Regions from separate parts of the Homo sapiens genome. Here region 2 is linked to region 1. The links are contacts of gene promoters, found by promoter capture Hi-C in blood cells and fetal thymus (Javierre and others, 2016). All regions are on one chromosome and are shown on one strand. The core of a region is centred on a gene start or on the middle of the fragment in contact, and the rest is flanking DNA. Distances in the headings are between cores, read along the strand shown.

Region 1 (7,486 bases), core at 4,890-7,389:
AGGGGTTGGGCAGAGAACAGCAGCTGCCACTGCAGCGTCCCCACACGGACACTACCCCTGGACATCCATGCTCCCTGCTCCTGGGCCAACGAGGAAGCCAAGGTCAGGAGAACCCGGGTACCCGGGGCCGCTCCTCTGAGGCCTGCCGAGCAGACAGACACAGACAGACACAGCTATTCCTGTCCCAAGGGGCCATCGGGGGCTGGGAAGTGCTGAAATAGAAAGCAGGTCCCGAGCCCTGCTGGGGACGTGGCCTGTTCTTGACCTGGGTGGACTGGGCCAACTCTAGAGGGAGTTGCAGCTCAGCCCAGCCTGGCCAGTTTGTGGTGGCTGGCCTGGGCCACCCCGGGCAGGCGCCTGGGCCCAGGAGGGATCTTAGACCTCACACTCTCTCCCCTGGGGTTCCCGGGCTGTGGGGTCCTTGTCACAGTTCCCCAGGTGATGGGTTCCTGGAGCTTCCAGAGAGAAAGCTCTGGCAATTTGGGGGCTTTGTAAGGGCTGAGAGACTCCAGGCCTGGTCCCAGCTCCACCCTCCTAGCTGCATGACCTTGGGCAAGTGACTTTGCCTCTCTGAGCCTCCCTTTCCTCTTCTGAAGATGGGAACAGGATGCCCCATTATAAGATTATTTGGGGGAATTAATAGACCTGAAGTGCTTCCCCTGTGCCTGGCCCGCCAGAAGCTCTCAGTGAGCGGCAGCTGTTATAGACTTGTCTCGGTGAGCGCTGCATGTTGAGTGACTGACCTGCTAGACCAGGGGTTTCAACCCTTGGATCACATCCCAGGAGGGCTCCACGCAGCAGTGCCTCATACTCTGCCCTGTTTTGTGTTCCAGTGCCTGGGATAAGAGGTGCCAAGCAGGGCCCGCATGGCCACCACCCCCGGCCACCAAGCCTGCTGGACCTGTGCTTGCTCTGGCACCTGTGCTGATCCCACTAGAGCCCCTCCCTGGCTGGGCCAAGTGTCAGAGGAGGCTGTGGAGAGAGGGAGCAGGGCCAGGCCCCTGAGAGGGTCCCGGGGCTTCCCCTCTCCCTCTCCCTGGGGAGTCTATTGCCACAGCAGCCCCAACGTGGGTCAGACCCCAAAGGCTCGGCCGCCTCCTCAAACCCCAAGTGGAAGGTCCCGGGGTGGTGGGAGCCCAGTGGCCTGGCCTCTGAGCTCCCAGGTTCCTGCCTGACTCTTCAGGGGCCCAGCTGTGTGAGCCCGAGGGAGGGAAGGGACTTAGTCCCCTTGCTCTCTGTGAGGACCCTCACCAGGAGGTGGGCGGGATGAGAAGTGCTGGTCCAGGCACAGGCCAGGTGGAACGGGACACACGGGAAGCCCCCCACGGTGGCAATCCTCTTCCTGCTGTCTCTGCCCTGGGGGAACCCACCACTCACCCAGCACCTCCTGGGCTGGCCCTGGGTGGGCCTGGAGACCCAGATGGTGGGAACTGCACCCCTGCCCAGCTGCCAGCTGTAACCTGGCTGGCCACAAGAAGGCCAGGGCGTGAAGGGGCACCCCTGCCCAGGTGGCAGGAAGGCTGGCATGGAGCTGAGCTGCCTCGGAGCTTCGATAGCTGAAGCCCCTCTCCGGCCTTCATCTCCACATGTATAAAAGGTGGGGCCAACTTGGCGGGTTCCAAGGTCCTCTGGTCCCAGTGTTCCCCCTGAGGCCCTGCTGCCCCATTCTGTAAGCTAAGACTCAGCTAGCCCCACACGCATTCCACACTCCACACTCAGACCTCACCCCAGGCTCCTGGACCCATGGCAAGGCCAGGCAGAGCCAGTGTGAATCCTGGGAGAGCCTGCAAGGCTGGTCACCAGACCTCCTCCACCAGCAATCCCTCCCGGATTGGGTCTTAGGAGCCTGGGGCTTTCCCTCTGCTTTCTCACCAATAAGCCCCGCGCTGCTGTCCCCCGCCATTCCCTGCGGGGACCCTCCCTGGGCTCCATGGGGCTCAAGGCTGCAGCTTCTTCCGTGTGGGCCCCTTCAGCAGTACCAGCCCACACTGAGTCTCACCACCTTGTGCCAGCTGTGGCCAGGGCCACAGCCCTGCCAGACCCCATGATGAGGCAGTGTTCTGTGGGTGCCCCTTCCCACAGTCCATGAGACTGGGTTTAACAGAAGGGTACTGGGGGGCTGCAAGCCAGGCATGGTTCCAGCCAGGGTCTGCATGCCCCATTTGCTGTGTGACTTTGGACAGGCCTTCCTCCCTTTCTGGGCCTCAGTTTCCCTGTGTGTAAGAGCAGATGTTGAGACAAGATGCCCTGGGGGGAACCCTCAGTGTTGAGCAGGCATAAGGGGGTGCCTTGGGGCACCGAGGGGGCCAGCCCAGAGGGTAGCAGTCCCAGCAGCCACCCTAGGATGACTCCCTAGAGCCCCAGAGCCGCGCGCTAACTGTGCACCAGGCACAGCACCAGGTACCCTGGACGTCCCCAGTTGTGGCTGAGTTCCAGGCATTCAGCCAAGACTGGCCTGGATGATCCCGGACTCTGGGTACTTCCCCACCCACCTCTCAAAGGCTCTGCCCTGCAGGGTCTCATAGCCTGCCCTGGTTCTTCTAGCCTCCACCCCTGGAGCCCCGACATGCTCTGCTACCGTGGGGTCCGCGTCTTCCCCTCAGATAGGAGGAGGCCGCAGACTGGGCCCAGGCTGCCCCTCACTGCTGTGGGCCTTGGGGCTGGTCCTGTCCCTGTACCCCCAGCCCAGTTTCCTTGGTTCCCACTGTGGGGCTGAGCCTCCCTGTGGAGCTGTGATGTGGCCGGCAGGACCCAGCGCTTCCTGAGAGGAGGGACGCCCCTTCCCAGCCGTGAGCACAGGCCACAGGGCCAAGGCTGAGGATCAGAGCAGACAAGGGAGGCGCCAGGCTGGGCTTGAACCCAGGGCTGCACAAGGGGCCCCCACATTCCCTGGACATGCAGGCTCACCTCTCCCTGGGGCAGAGAAAGGCTCCTGCCCACCCCAGCTCAATGGCAGGTGCCTGCCCGCTACCCAGCAAGTCCAGAGTGCAGGAGAGGGCCTGTGGGCACTGGACCCCCCAGGAAGGAGCCTGCAGGTCTCCCGATCACCCCTCATCTGGAAGCTCTGCACTCCCCCTCTGCCCCTCCTCCATAGCTCTGGCCTCTCGAGTAGGTGGGAGTCCTGCAGAGCTGGCTGGCATCACCCCACCTTCGCAGGCCCCCTTGGGAGGACCTCACCCCTGGACACATGGCAGAAAACGGCTGCCAGCCTCCCGGGGCTGTTTACATCCTCGAGTGGCACCAAGACGAGGGTCTCTCAGGAGGACAGACGAGGTCTGCGGTGTCAGGCACCAGCAGGGGTGGCAGAACCCGCCTGTCACCACCATCTGCTGTTCCCCATTATCCTGAGCCCTCTCCACCCCGGGGACTGCTCAGTGGCCCGTTGTTGGCTTCATCCCTCAGGATGGGGACCCTACAGTGCCAGCACTGCCCATGATGGGCGGGGCTTGTCAGTCTTGATTGCAGCGTTATGGGATTCCCAACTGCAGCTGCCACAGCGAGAGGGCCTTGGCGTCACAGGCCAAGGGTGGAGGACAGGAGCCATGGGTCCACCTGGCTCCCATGGAGGTTCACAAGGGGCCACTTCTGCCTCCTGCCCAGGGTGGCCTGGTAGCCCTGCTGGCGGCTCATGTGGAGATATCATTGTGGCGCTTCCCTGCACCCTGTCCCTTGGGGAAGGAGGAATGGTAGGCTGCTGATGCCTCACCGCTGGCAGGGCCTCCAAGGATGCTTCCATGGGCTTGAGAGGGCTCTCCACCAGGCCCAGTTCCCTACAGTGTCTGCCCAAGGGGCCCCTCCCACCCTGCAAAGTGTGCCAGAGCCCAGGATGAGCAGTCCTGCCCTGCGAAGGGCCAGTCAGACACACCTGAAGGGGTCCTGACCCTGGGCACAGCCACTCTCTGACCTCTGACCCCTGACCCCAGTCACAGACAGCCTGGCCTGACCTGCCAGCCTGATAAAGATGACAAGGAGGAAATTGTCCCTGTGCCCTGTCTCCTCTGAGGGTTGTGGAGTGTTGGCCCTGAGCTCGGGACCCCCATCCCTGGTGTCCCCCCAAGAGGATCCCTGGGTCCTGCTGAGAAGAGTCTCCCTGGGGGAGGAGTCAGGGAGGCTGGCGTGGGCTGTGACCCCTCCCCAGGCAGTTCCCCGCTGTTTGCTGGGGGACCGTCTCTGAGATTTCTCTGAGAACAAGCCTGAGAGTGCAAGGCTGGAGCCCCAGGCCCTCAGAGGTGGGCATGAGGCCTGGCACTGGTGCGGTGACTCAGCCACCCTCGCCTGCTCAGGAAATCTGAGCCTCCTCTGGCTCCAGCCCTGCCCAATCTGGGCTGCCTCCAGGCCACCCCCACACAAAAATGACATTGCATCCACCCCCACCTTCCACAAGCCCGGTGAAACCCTGCCTGCCAGGAGCCAGTCCTGGTCCAGAGAGGTGCAAGAGGCTGGTGGCCAGAGACTCCTGTGCCTCTCTGGGCCTCAGTTTCCCCAGCTAAAACAGACACAACGATGTTCTAAAGGAGATAATTGCAGCCTGTGGGCTCAGCCCTGCAGCCGCAGGGAGGCTGCTCCAGAGTGAAGAAACCATCCTCTCCCAGAACTTTCAATGGCTCCCTGTTGCAGCACTCTGGTACCCATAGAGGCTGCTGAGACTCAGTGTAGAAGTCCCCTGCCCACTCCCAGCTTTGCTCCCCAGGAAATATTCTGATGGCCTCCTGTCCCTCTGCCCATCTGGGCTGCCTGCCTCCTGTTATACCTCCCTCTGCCCCTTCCAGGAAGCCTTCCCAGACGGCATCCCTCCCCAGCAGGCTGGGTCAGGACCCTAGGGCCCACCTACTCTCTCCTGTTGGTCTGCATTACAACCAGCCTGAGCTCGGGAAGGCCCAGCCCCTCCCTTGGGGAGCCTTCCCTGAGTCTCCGGTGTGCAGTACAACCCACTCAGCAGGGCCTCGGCACTCAGGCGGCTGGAAGGTTAAAGTGTGAGTATCAGCAGAAGCACACGGGATGGGAACAAGAGGAGATGGTGCTCTCGGCAGAGGAGACACTAACTAAATGGCCCCAACCGCTCCCCGACAACCCCCGCTGCCACCCCAGGCTGGCCACAAGGCCTCCTGGCTCTGAAGCTGTCTGGGGAGAGTGGCCCTCCAGCAGCCCTCTGGGATCAAGCCTGTTGATGAGCTCACGCTTCCTCCAGCACTGAGGTCCGGGTCCCACACGCTCTCCCCACCTGCTGGCCTGGGTCACGTCCAGGTCTTTCCCACACACCTGACCCCACATGCCACATGCCACCGGTGCATGGGTGCAAACAGAGGCCCAGATGCCAGGTGTGCAGGCTGTCGGTCATGGGTACACACAGACACAGCCAAACCCAGGACACATGCAAAACAGAGAGCCATGCAGGAACCCAGGCTTGCGTGGGCTGAAGCTACCATGCACATGCCCCCTCCCGGGAAGGAAATTGGGCTTTCGTGTGCTCCCACCTCCTGTCCCGCACACAGCACGCACAAGTGCCAGCCACCATCTCCTGGATGGTGCAGCTGAGACTCAGCCCCTCCGTGCCTCAGTTTCCCCCTCCTGCCCCCCACACAGCACACACAAGTGCCAGCCACCGTCTCCTGGATGGTGCAGCTGAGACTCAGCCCCTCTGTGCCTCAGTTTTCCCCTCCTGCCCCGCACACAGCACGCACAAGTGCCAGCCACCATCTCCTGGATGGTGCAGCTGAGACTCAGCCCCTCCGTGCCTCAGTTTCCCCCTCCTGCCCCGCACACAGCACACACAAGTGCCAGCCACTGTCTCCTGGATGGTGCAGCTGAGGCTTAGCCCCTCCGTGCCTCAGTTTCCCACCTCCTGCCCTGCACACGGCACACACAAGTGCCAGCCACCACCTCCTGGATGGTGCAGCTGAGGCTCAGCTCCTCGGTGCCTCAGTTTCCCCCTCTGTCTCCAGTGGGTGTGGGGACTCTGGTGCCCCAGGCCCCTCTGTGCCTCGGTTTCTTCTTCTGTCTCCAGTGGGTGTGGGGACTCTGGTGCCCCAGGCACCGTCCCTCAGGCTCTGAGCCTTGACTCCTCCTGGGGGCGGGGAAGGAGCCTGCCCCGCCCCCACCCTGCCTTTGCCCAAAAGGAGCCCCAAGCGCTGGCCTGACGTCAGGCCGTAGGAAGGCGAGGTCCGGGCTGCATGCAGAGCTGAGAGCTGAGGACTCCCATCTCCAGCCTGCCCGGGTGAAGCGCGGTAAGTTCCCCTGTGGGCTGGCCCCAGCCTCCCTCTCCCCAGCTTCCCTAGATAGGAGGCTCCTGAGCTGCTCCCTGCAGGGGTTCTCACCCCCAGCCAAGCAGGAGTGGGAAGGGCAGGGCAGAGAAACTGCCTCCAGATCCGGGCTGGGGAGAGCTCAGAGCAGGTCCTGCTGGACAGGGAGCCATTTCTCAGATGAGAAAACAGAGACCTGAGGGAGAACATGGGCGTGAGTTGGGCTGGCTGCATAAGGGGGAGCTGCGCTGCTAGGTGCCCACCCAACTCTGGATTTCATTCATTCACTCATTCATCCCTCCGTTCAACACTCACCGAGCATCTGCTGGGTGCCCAGAGCTGGGTCTTGGTTTCCCCACCTGGCAAGGCAGCAGGGTGGCCCACAGGCCAAGCCAGGGACAGAGTTGGGGGACCCCAGAGGCACTTGGCAGGCTCTGGGGCCTCAGCCACCACCACCCCGCAGCTGGGGCAGGGCCATGGTGAGGGCTTTGTGGGCATGGGCTCCAAGCGCCATGCTCCCTCTTCAGAGTGCCCGTCCTGCCATCCCACAGCTCAGGCCCTCTGCAGTAGCCTTGGTGCTGTCTCTACCCCTTAGGGGTGGGGAAACTGAGTCCCAGGGAAGGCTTGCTTGCCAGCCCTCAGTGTGGACCTAGAAGCTGGCTCCAGCCCCGCGAAGCTCGCACTGGGACTGCGCTGTGAGAAGGCGGCAGGACAGGGTCCCGAGGGGGCAGCGGGCTGGGAACTGGCCAGCAGCCAGGGTGCTGGCGGGGCAGACGTGGAGCAGCTGGCGACCTCGCAGGACGGGGAATGCACCCCGCAGGAGGCTGGGCCTGTCCACTTGCCCTGTCTTCTTCCTTCAACAGCTGGTCATCCTGGGTCTTCCCTCCCCTCTCCCCCCAGGACTCATCCAGTCGCTGGGCTCCAGGGCGGTCTGCTGAGTGGCCGTGGCAAGTCGCTGCCCCTCTCTGAGCCACACGGTGTGGGCCCATCAGCAAAGGCGGGGTCTGCGGCTGGAGAGCCGGGCGTGGGGGCCATGCAGTTTGGACCATTTCTGAGCAGCTCCTGGAGCCCACGGGGTGGCTTCATTGTCTTCTTGTTAAGTGGTATTAGCATCTCCTCTTTATAGATGAGGAAACTGAGGCTCAAGGAGATCAGAGGGGTATTCTAAAATCATCCACTCCATCACTCAGCAGTGACTCAGTGACTCAGAGGGGCCAGCCAAGGCCAGGGCCCCTGAGGCACTCCAG
Region 2 (7,603 bases), core at 5,104-7,603, 180 kb after region 1:
AGCGGTCCCCGTTCACACAAGGGACCAGGGAGCCAGCACGATCCTCAGAGCTCTCGGGTGACATGGGCTGGCTGCAGGTGCAGGCGGCTGTGGGCGGGGCTGGGCTCGAGCCTGCACCCTGCGCCACCCCTGAACCTCCTGAGCCAGCTTTGCTTCCAGACTAGCACCTCCCTACCCACCCCAACAGGGCCTGACACAGGCGCCCCCGACACTAAGTCAGGGGAAAAAGGAGTGGGGAGTGTGGCCCCTCACCCAGGGCTGGGGCTGCCTGGACCAAGTGGGCAGCCTTGTGCACTTTCCCCACCATGAGCCTCTGCTCAAGGAGACCCCACCTCCTCCTCCCGTCTCCCTGGATGCCCCGTGTCCAGTGCTGCTCCCACTGTGGGAAACAGCAGCGAACAGGCAGCCCAAGGCCAACACTGAGCACTCAGGCGATTATCAGGCGAGTCCAGGCTTCTGACACCATGGCTGGTGCACCTCTGGGAGGCTGTGCCCTCTCGGGGCTGCCCCATGCCACAGTGCCCACAGCAAGCTCAGCAGGAAGGCCGGGTGTGGTGCCTTCATCACCACGCTTGGCCCACACTGGTGTCATGGGTTCTCCGCACCCGTGAGCAGAAGCAGACCGAGGACACCACCCAGCTTTCCTCGTTCTAGATCCACTTCACTCTGTACGCCCCGCCTGGCCCCTGTGGGCACAAGACTTGGGAACCCTACCCGCTGTGCCTTCTGCCCACCCACAAGCCAAACAGTCCCTTCTCCCCAGCAGAGCTTACTGCACCTGGGTGCCTCCTGTCCGTCCTGCACAATCAAATCCGTGACACTGGAGCAGTGGGCTGTGAGCTGCTTGTTGCAGGACATGCTGTGGACGTTGATGATGTAGATGACGGAGTCTTCCGAGCCAACCCACACCTGGTTCTGGTCGGCCATCACCATGCAGTTCTAACAGGAGGCCACGGGAACGTGAGAAATCAGTCAGTCTCGATACTGGTGAAGTCATATTCTATACATTTACTGCACGTGCTGAATTAGCGGATATGGAACCACTGCTCCTAGGGGACACGCCGGCTCAGGGTCCTGGGAGCCTCTGGCCCTGACGTTGTCATCCACCCATCAGTGCATAACCTTGTTCTCCGCGTGCTCTGTTCACAGACACCTTATTGACTACGTATGATTGATTCATTAACACGAAACCCACGGCCGCCAGCACTGTCACTGCGGCCTGAACCAAGCTCATCTCACACATGCATTTTCTCTGCAAGACACGTCACCGCCTCCTTGTGCTTAGGGAGCTCCATGCTTGAGGCTTTCTTAAATGGCAAAATCACCAACGAAAAGCAAAAAATGTGAAAACTGTGGCACCAATCAGGCCGAGGAGAGGACACTTGTTGGCCCAGAAAATCCATATCAGGTGACTCAAGTTTTTCCCCCGTCTGTGCACGTGGATGTCTGTGGATCACCAAGAAAATACCACGAGTATCTGTTTTGGGAGTTACAAGTAAATATTAGCAGGTGGTCGAATTTGCAAATACGGAATCTCCAAATGATGAGACCGACTGTATGTGAACAAGCAGAACTGGCAGTGCTCCCAGTGTCTAGAGAGTGCGCTCAGGGTTTCTGTCTAAGCTAAGCAAAGTCAACATAATGATTGCTTTTAGACTCTTTGAAATCAGAATTTTTATTTTTGTTTGTTTGTTTATTTTGAGACAGAGTCTCACTCTGCCACCCAGGCTGGAGTGCAGTGGCATGATCATGGCTCACTGCAGCCTCAGCCTCCCGGCTCAAGCGATTCTCCCGCTTCAGACCCCCGAGTAGCCGGGACTACAGCCATGGGCCACCACGCCTGGCTGATGCCACCACGCCTGGCTGATGCCACCACGCCTGGCTGATGTTTGGCAGTTTTAGTAGAGATAGGGTTTCCCCACGTTGCCCAGGCTGGTCTCGAACTCCTAGACTCAAGCAATCCTCCTGCTTCGGCCCCCCAAAGTGCTGGGATTACAGGCGTGAGCCACTGCGCCCAGCCTTGAAATGCTTATAACTAAGAACGAACTGAAAAAAATTAAATTTAGAAAAATAATTTCCCTAATTTTTCCTTTTTTTGTTGTTTGGTTTAAAGCATTACTAGACTTTTGTCAATATTTTTACTGTATCATGGATCCTATTACTTTATCATCTGAGGCTCATGATTTGAATATGGGGGGAAATGATTTAGCAGGCTCTTATTACCTTCTAACATGTAAAGTTTGCTATTCAGGTATCTCAAGAGTGGTCCCACCCTCTTGGTGGTATGTATTTGAGTTCACAGTATTTGTTTTATAGCAGTTTTGCAAGCACATACTGTGCCACGGATTTTCCCACATTATTTTTAGACAAGGGAACACAGCCATCAAAACTGATACCATGGCCGGGCGCAGTGGCTCACACCTGTAATCCCAGCACTTTGGCGGGGCCGAGGCGGGAGGACTGCTTGAGCCCAGGAGTTTGAGACCAGCCTGAGCAGCACGGTGAAACCCCATCTCTACTCAAAATACAAAAATTAGCCGGGTGTGGTGGTGCGCACCTATATAGCCCCAGCTACTCGGGAGGTCCAGGCTGCAGTAAGCAGCGATTGTGCCACTACACTCCAGCCACGGGCAATGGGAGAGGGACCCTGTCAAAAAAAAAAAAATGGTACCAGCCAATGCCTAATATATACTTAGGTATATACTCCACTGGAGTGTTCTTTTCACATTAAACATGTAAAAAAAAAAAAATCCTATCATGCTCAAGGAGTAAGGCATGAGGATTTCTCAGCAGATCCCATGATGGGGTGGCTGCTTGGAGGGTGACCAGATAGGAGGAGAGTGTAGATGCGAAAATATTTTGAAAACTATAAAATGCAATTTAAATGTGAACGTCATCTGCAAATCCATGAGCAAGAACAGGAGAAACATGGACAAAGGGCGCGCAGGCCACGGTGCGGGGGAGTGTGGGGTCTCAGAGCACGGGGAGCTACTCAGCGGCCTCTCGGGCGACAGGGAAGCGCACACAGATCCGCAGGGAGGGGCAGCTCACAGCGCTGACGGGCAAACAGGGAAAATCCCCAAGAAATGATGGTCTGCAGGCAGGAGGGGCCGCTGGGGGCCTGGAGGGATGAGCAGGGCAGGAATCCCAGCTTCCACACTCAAGATACCATGGTCATGGAAGAAGCGACACACCATGGCACTGCCAAGGACACACTACTAAAAATGTATTAACAGTTGCACTTGTTTTAAAATTATCAGAAACAATTCAAACTTGCTTTAAATCAGGGGTGTGCACTCTTGTGGCTTCCCTGAGCCACAGTGGAAGAAGAATTGTCTTGGGCCACACATAAAATACACTAACATTAACGATCGCTGATGAGCTAGAAGGAAAAAGATTGCAAAAAAAACTCAACATATGTTTTAAGAAAGTTTACAAATTTGTGTTGGGCCTCATTCAAAGCCGTCCTGGGCCACGTACAGCCTGCAGGCCACAGGTTGGACAAGCTTGCTCTAAGTGAGAGGAATAATGTGTGACGAGTGGACACTGAGTTTTGCTGGGCCCTGGTCTCTGCCACCTGGCACGTGGGGACAGGTGGATAACACTGAAGTCACTGCAGAGGCAGCTGTCTCCTCTTTTGCTCCAAAAGAGACCCAGTAACCACTGTGCCACCAGGAAACACCAGGGTTCCCAGGAAACACTGCAGGTTCATTTTAAGGCCCTGGTCCCTGGGAACCTTAGTGCTGCAGTACAGGATGGAAGACATCGTTCCCAGCCTGGGCAGCGTGGCAAAACCTCATCTCTACAAAAAATACAAAATTAGCCAGGCATGGTAGCATGCACCTGTAGTCCCAGTTACTCAGGAGACCGAGGTGGATCCCTTGAGCCCAGAAGGTCGAGGCTGCAGTGAGCCATGACTGAACCACTGCACTCCAGCCTGGGCAACAGAGCAAGACCCTGTCTCAAAAAAGAAAAAAAAGAAGGAAATTGTTCCCAAAGTGTGTGAAGCCTGTAATAAGCAGGCAGAGACCACAATGGCTCCACTTCACAGAACTGACGTCGATTTTTATTATTTTATTATTATTATTATTTGTCTGTTTGAGACAGGGTATGGCTCTGTCACCCAGGCTGGAGTGCAGTGGCGCGATCTTGGCTCACTGCAGCCTCGACCTCCCAGGCTCAGCGATCCTACCACCTCAGCTTCCCAAGTAACTGGGACTACAGGCACGCTCCACCATGCCCGGCTAATTTTTGTAGTTTTTGTAGAGATGGGGTCTCACTCTGTTGCCCAGGCTGGTCTCAAACTCCTGGGCTCAAGGCAATCCACCCACCTCAGCCTCCCAAAGTGCTGAGATTAGAGGTGTGAGCCCCTGCAATCTATTTTTAGATGGGGGCCTGAAATCTGTTTTTAGATGAGAAAGTCAAAGCCATTATCTTCTCCTTCAATAAGGACGTGTAAGTAGAAGTTTGGAACAAGCTTACATTTAATTTGAAAACTCCAGGTGAAAGTTAAGACCCCCTGTTTACAGAAACCGAGTGAGGCTGTGGAATAGCTTGTATCCTACTGTCGAATATGGATGAACACACTTGGGTTTCAGAAATCACGTGAATTCAGAGGCTTCTTTCCTGACGCTTCGTGTACTCACCACTTTTGCAGTGCCCACTTTAAAGGAGTGCTGGTGGATGGTCCATGAAGAAGCATTGAACACGGTCACCTTGCCTTCGCTCAGAGCACACCATAACTTGGGGTGAGCATCTTCAACTTTTTCGGCTGGGTCAAGATGCCCTAAAGAGGAGAGCAGCACAAAACTGTTAGGAGGAAACACTTCTGCTGTAGCAGCAGGTGACTGGTGCCCTTACTCAGGTGCCTCCTGGGCCCTCCTAAGCGCCAGGCCCATGTTAGGTGCTGTACGTACAAAGACGTGCCCAGGCAGAGGCTTCCCTGCCCTCTGGGAGCTCAGAGTCAAGGGGGGCAGCTGGCTGGTGAGAGGGCCACAAAGACAGGGTCAGAGCCGCAGGCAGATGCAGAGCCGAATGCCTGTGAGCTTTGCTAAGCCAGGACCTGCCAGCTGAGTGAGCATTCACTAGAGGAAACAGCCAGGCAGAGGGAACTGGAAGAGGAGCAGGTGGACACAGAGGGAGGGAGGCAGGGAGGGAGGGCAGCTGGAGAGACGGCGGCAGGGGCCATGGTGCCCCCCACACCCTCATGTGCAGCGGGCTCCGCGTCTTTCCCAACACTTGCTGGCGTCCGTCCATCTTTTTAATTTCGGCCATTCTAAGGGTGTGGAGCTTTTGGCTTTTAAATTGTGGTTTAATTGCATTTCTCTAATTGCTAATGAGCCTGATGGCTTGAACTGGCCATCCCCATGCCCTCTTGTGGGAAGTGTCTGTTTTTCGTTCTCCCTAGTTTGTGGCTGTTATTTTTTTTTATTTTTATTTTTTTTTACTTTTTAATAGACGAGGTCTTGCCATGTTGCCCGGGCTGGAGTGCAGCAGTGTTCACAGGTGCGATCACAGCAAACCACAGGCTCCGAGTCCAGGGCTCTGGCCACCCTCCCACCTCACTGGGACCACAGGCACGCCCGGCCAGCTGTTCCGGTGTTCTGGATATGAGCCCCTAACTGACTCCATGGTGCTGTATTCATAAATTACGTATGACATATAAAAATACCATAAAGCAAAAGACTGGTGAATCTGACTACATTAAAAGCAATGATTTTAGCAGCACCCATTTTAAAGATCCTTCCCAGTCTGCAGCTTACATTTTCACCCTCTCAAAAGTGTCTTCTGTCCATTTCCTGTGGCAGGGTCTGGGGAAGAGGCTGTAGGCGCCGTGTCCGGCCATGAAGATGGCAAGAAGCCTCTGAGACAGCCCAAGAAGCAGGCCCAGGAGAGGGACAGAGATGATGAGGCTTCCAGCAGAAAGCAAAACAGACCAGAACCTCAAGGGGCCGAAAGCACAGGCCGCAGGGAGGCCCAGCCACAGCTGGAACTAAGACCCCTGGCGGAAAGCACGCTGCTCCCTCTGCCTGGGCGGTGGCGGCCTGGACTCCACTCCTGTTTCAACACCTGCACCCCCGCCAGGACAGCTTTTGCCATCTTCAGCTAGAGTGAGCGTTGCCCTGGAGCCTGTTGCACTTTCAAGCATAAACTTTTCTTTTTTTTTTTAAATTAAAAAAAAAAAAAAACAAAACAAAAAACTGACAGTGTCACCGGACGTCTTCAGTGGCTTCTCACCCGTCATTCCCACCTGAGCCTGCCAGAGGGCGCTCTTTGGTCTTCTACCCTCAATTTTGTGTCACCGTGAATTAAACCAGCTCATTTGAAAGGAGGAAAAAAAAAGTGTCTTCTTTTTAAAATCATTGCTTTTGGCCAGTTGTGGTGGCTCACGCCTCTAACCCAGCGCTTTGGAGTCCAAAACCGGCAGACTGCTCAAGCTCAGGAGTTCAAGACCAGCCTGAGCAATACGGCAAAACTCCATCTCTACAAAAAAAAAAAAAAAAAATACAAAAATTGGCTGGGCATAGTGGTGTGCACCTGCAGTCCAGCTAATCAGGAGGCCGAGGGCGGAGGATCGCTAGAGCCCAGGAGGCAGAGGTTGCAGTGAGGTGTGATCGCGCCACTGCACCTGGGTGACAGAGTCAGACCCTGTCTCAGAAAAAATAAAAATAATAAAGTCATTGCTTTTAATATAGTCAAATTCAACATTCTTTTCCTTTATGGTATTTTATATATAATTTATGCATTTTTTTCTTTACCATAAAGTCATGAAAATATTCTTCTACCCTATCACCTAGAAGTCTGCTTGCTTTCATTGTTCACATTTGCCTTTTACCACCGCGTTGAGGTTTCGGCCCCCTTGGGCCTGACCGCAGGGCAGTGTGAAGGGGCGAGGTTTCACCTTTCCCCTGAGGATATTCAAGCGACCCCCCGCCCTGCAGTGCTGCCTCCGTCCTGAGTCCAGAAGGGCAGGCCTCCCGGTCTTTCTGGGGTGCGATTCCAGTGGTCTGTTGCTCCCATGGGTGAGACACTGCCGTCTCTGAGAGGCACGCTCCCCATGGGCAGAGCCTGAGCTGACCTGTGGCCTGGCCTCAGGGCTGGTTCTCCTAACTCCTAGGAACCTGTCGGAGACCCAGCCCCAAGCTAATGGGAATAACAAGACTCCCCCTTCTTGATGGGGCCTGACCCCACCTCTTGTCCCTGCAATCTCACAAGGCTTGCAAAAGCCCTGCTCGGCTACCAGCTTCTCGGCCACCCCTTCCAGAATCGGCAGCCACAGGAAAAGGCGGTTTCCCCATTCCCCACGGCTGCTTTGCACGCTCTCTGCAGGCCTTCGAGATGCTCCTGGAGGGGAAGCCGCCTGAACTCCTCGCCCGTCACAACAGGAAGCTCAGAGTGAGTTTCATTTCAGGGAAACCAACCGGGACCTAAAAATACCATGTATTCAAATGCCACGGTCAAAGTATCTTGGTCTGTGGAGTCATCTCTGGCGAAGTCAGCACAGAGCCTGGCTTAGACACATCAGGTAGGGCTCACGCGGGGCGGCCCTGATGACGCTGCCTGCTCACTCAGCCAGGGTCTATCGCGTTCCTGGGTTTCTTGG

What was found. The method cuts DNA at HindIII sites, captures the fragments that hold promoters and counts their contacts. A CHiCAGO score of 5 or more calls a contact.
Region 2: a fragment that was not itself captured here is called in contact with the fragment with the promoter of GPR20 in region 1 in 1 of 17 cell types (neutrophils); the score reaches 6.1 in neutrophils.

The regions. Positions count from the first base shown.
Region 1 is chr8:141,365,939-141,373,424 of GRCh38, reverse strand. It overlaps GPR20 (G protein-coupled receptor 20), which reads left to right and starts at 6,139. Exons shown (of 2, transcript NM_005293.3): 1 at 6,139-6,224. RefSeq lists enhancers at 1-300, 301-924, 4,827-5,376 and a silencer at 4,280-4,462. The HindIII fragment of the contact is 50,298 bases long and covers 1-7,486 here.
Region 2 is chr8:141,182,322-141,189,924 of GRCh38, reverse strand. DENND3 (DENN domain containing 3) reads right to left here. Exons shown (of 23, transcript NM_001352890.3): 18 at 4,647-4,786; 19 at 779-939. Among named protein-coding and RNA genes, the nearest start is that of DENND3-AS1, 56 kb to the right of the region's middle. RefSeq lists enhancers at 4,569-5,523, 6,224-6,363, 6,444-6,493, 7,254-7,363. The HindIII fragment of the contact is 3,747 bases long and covers 4,480-7,603 here.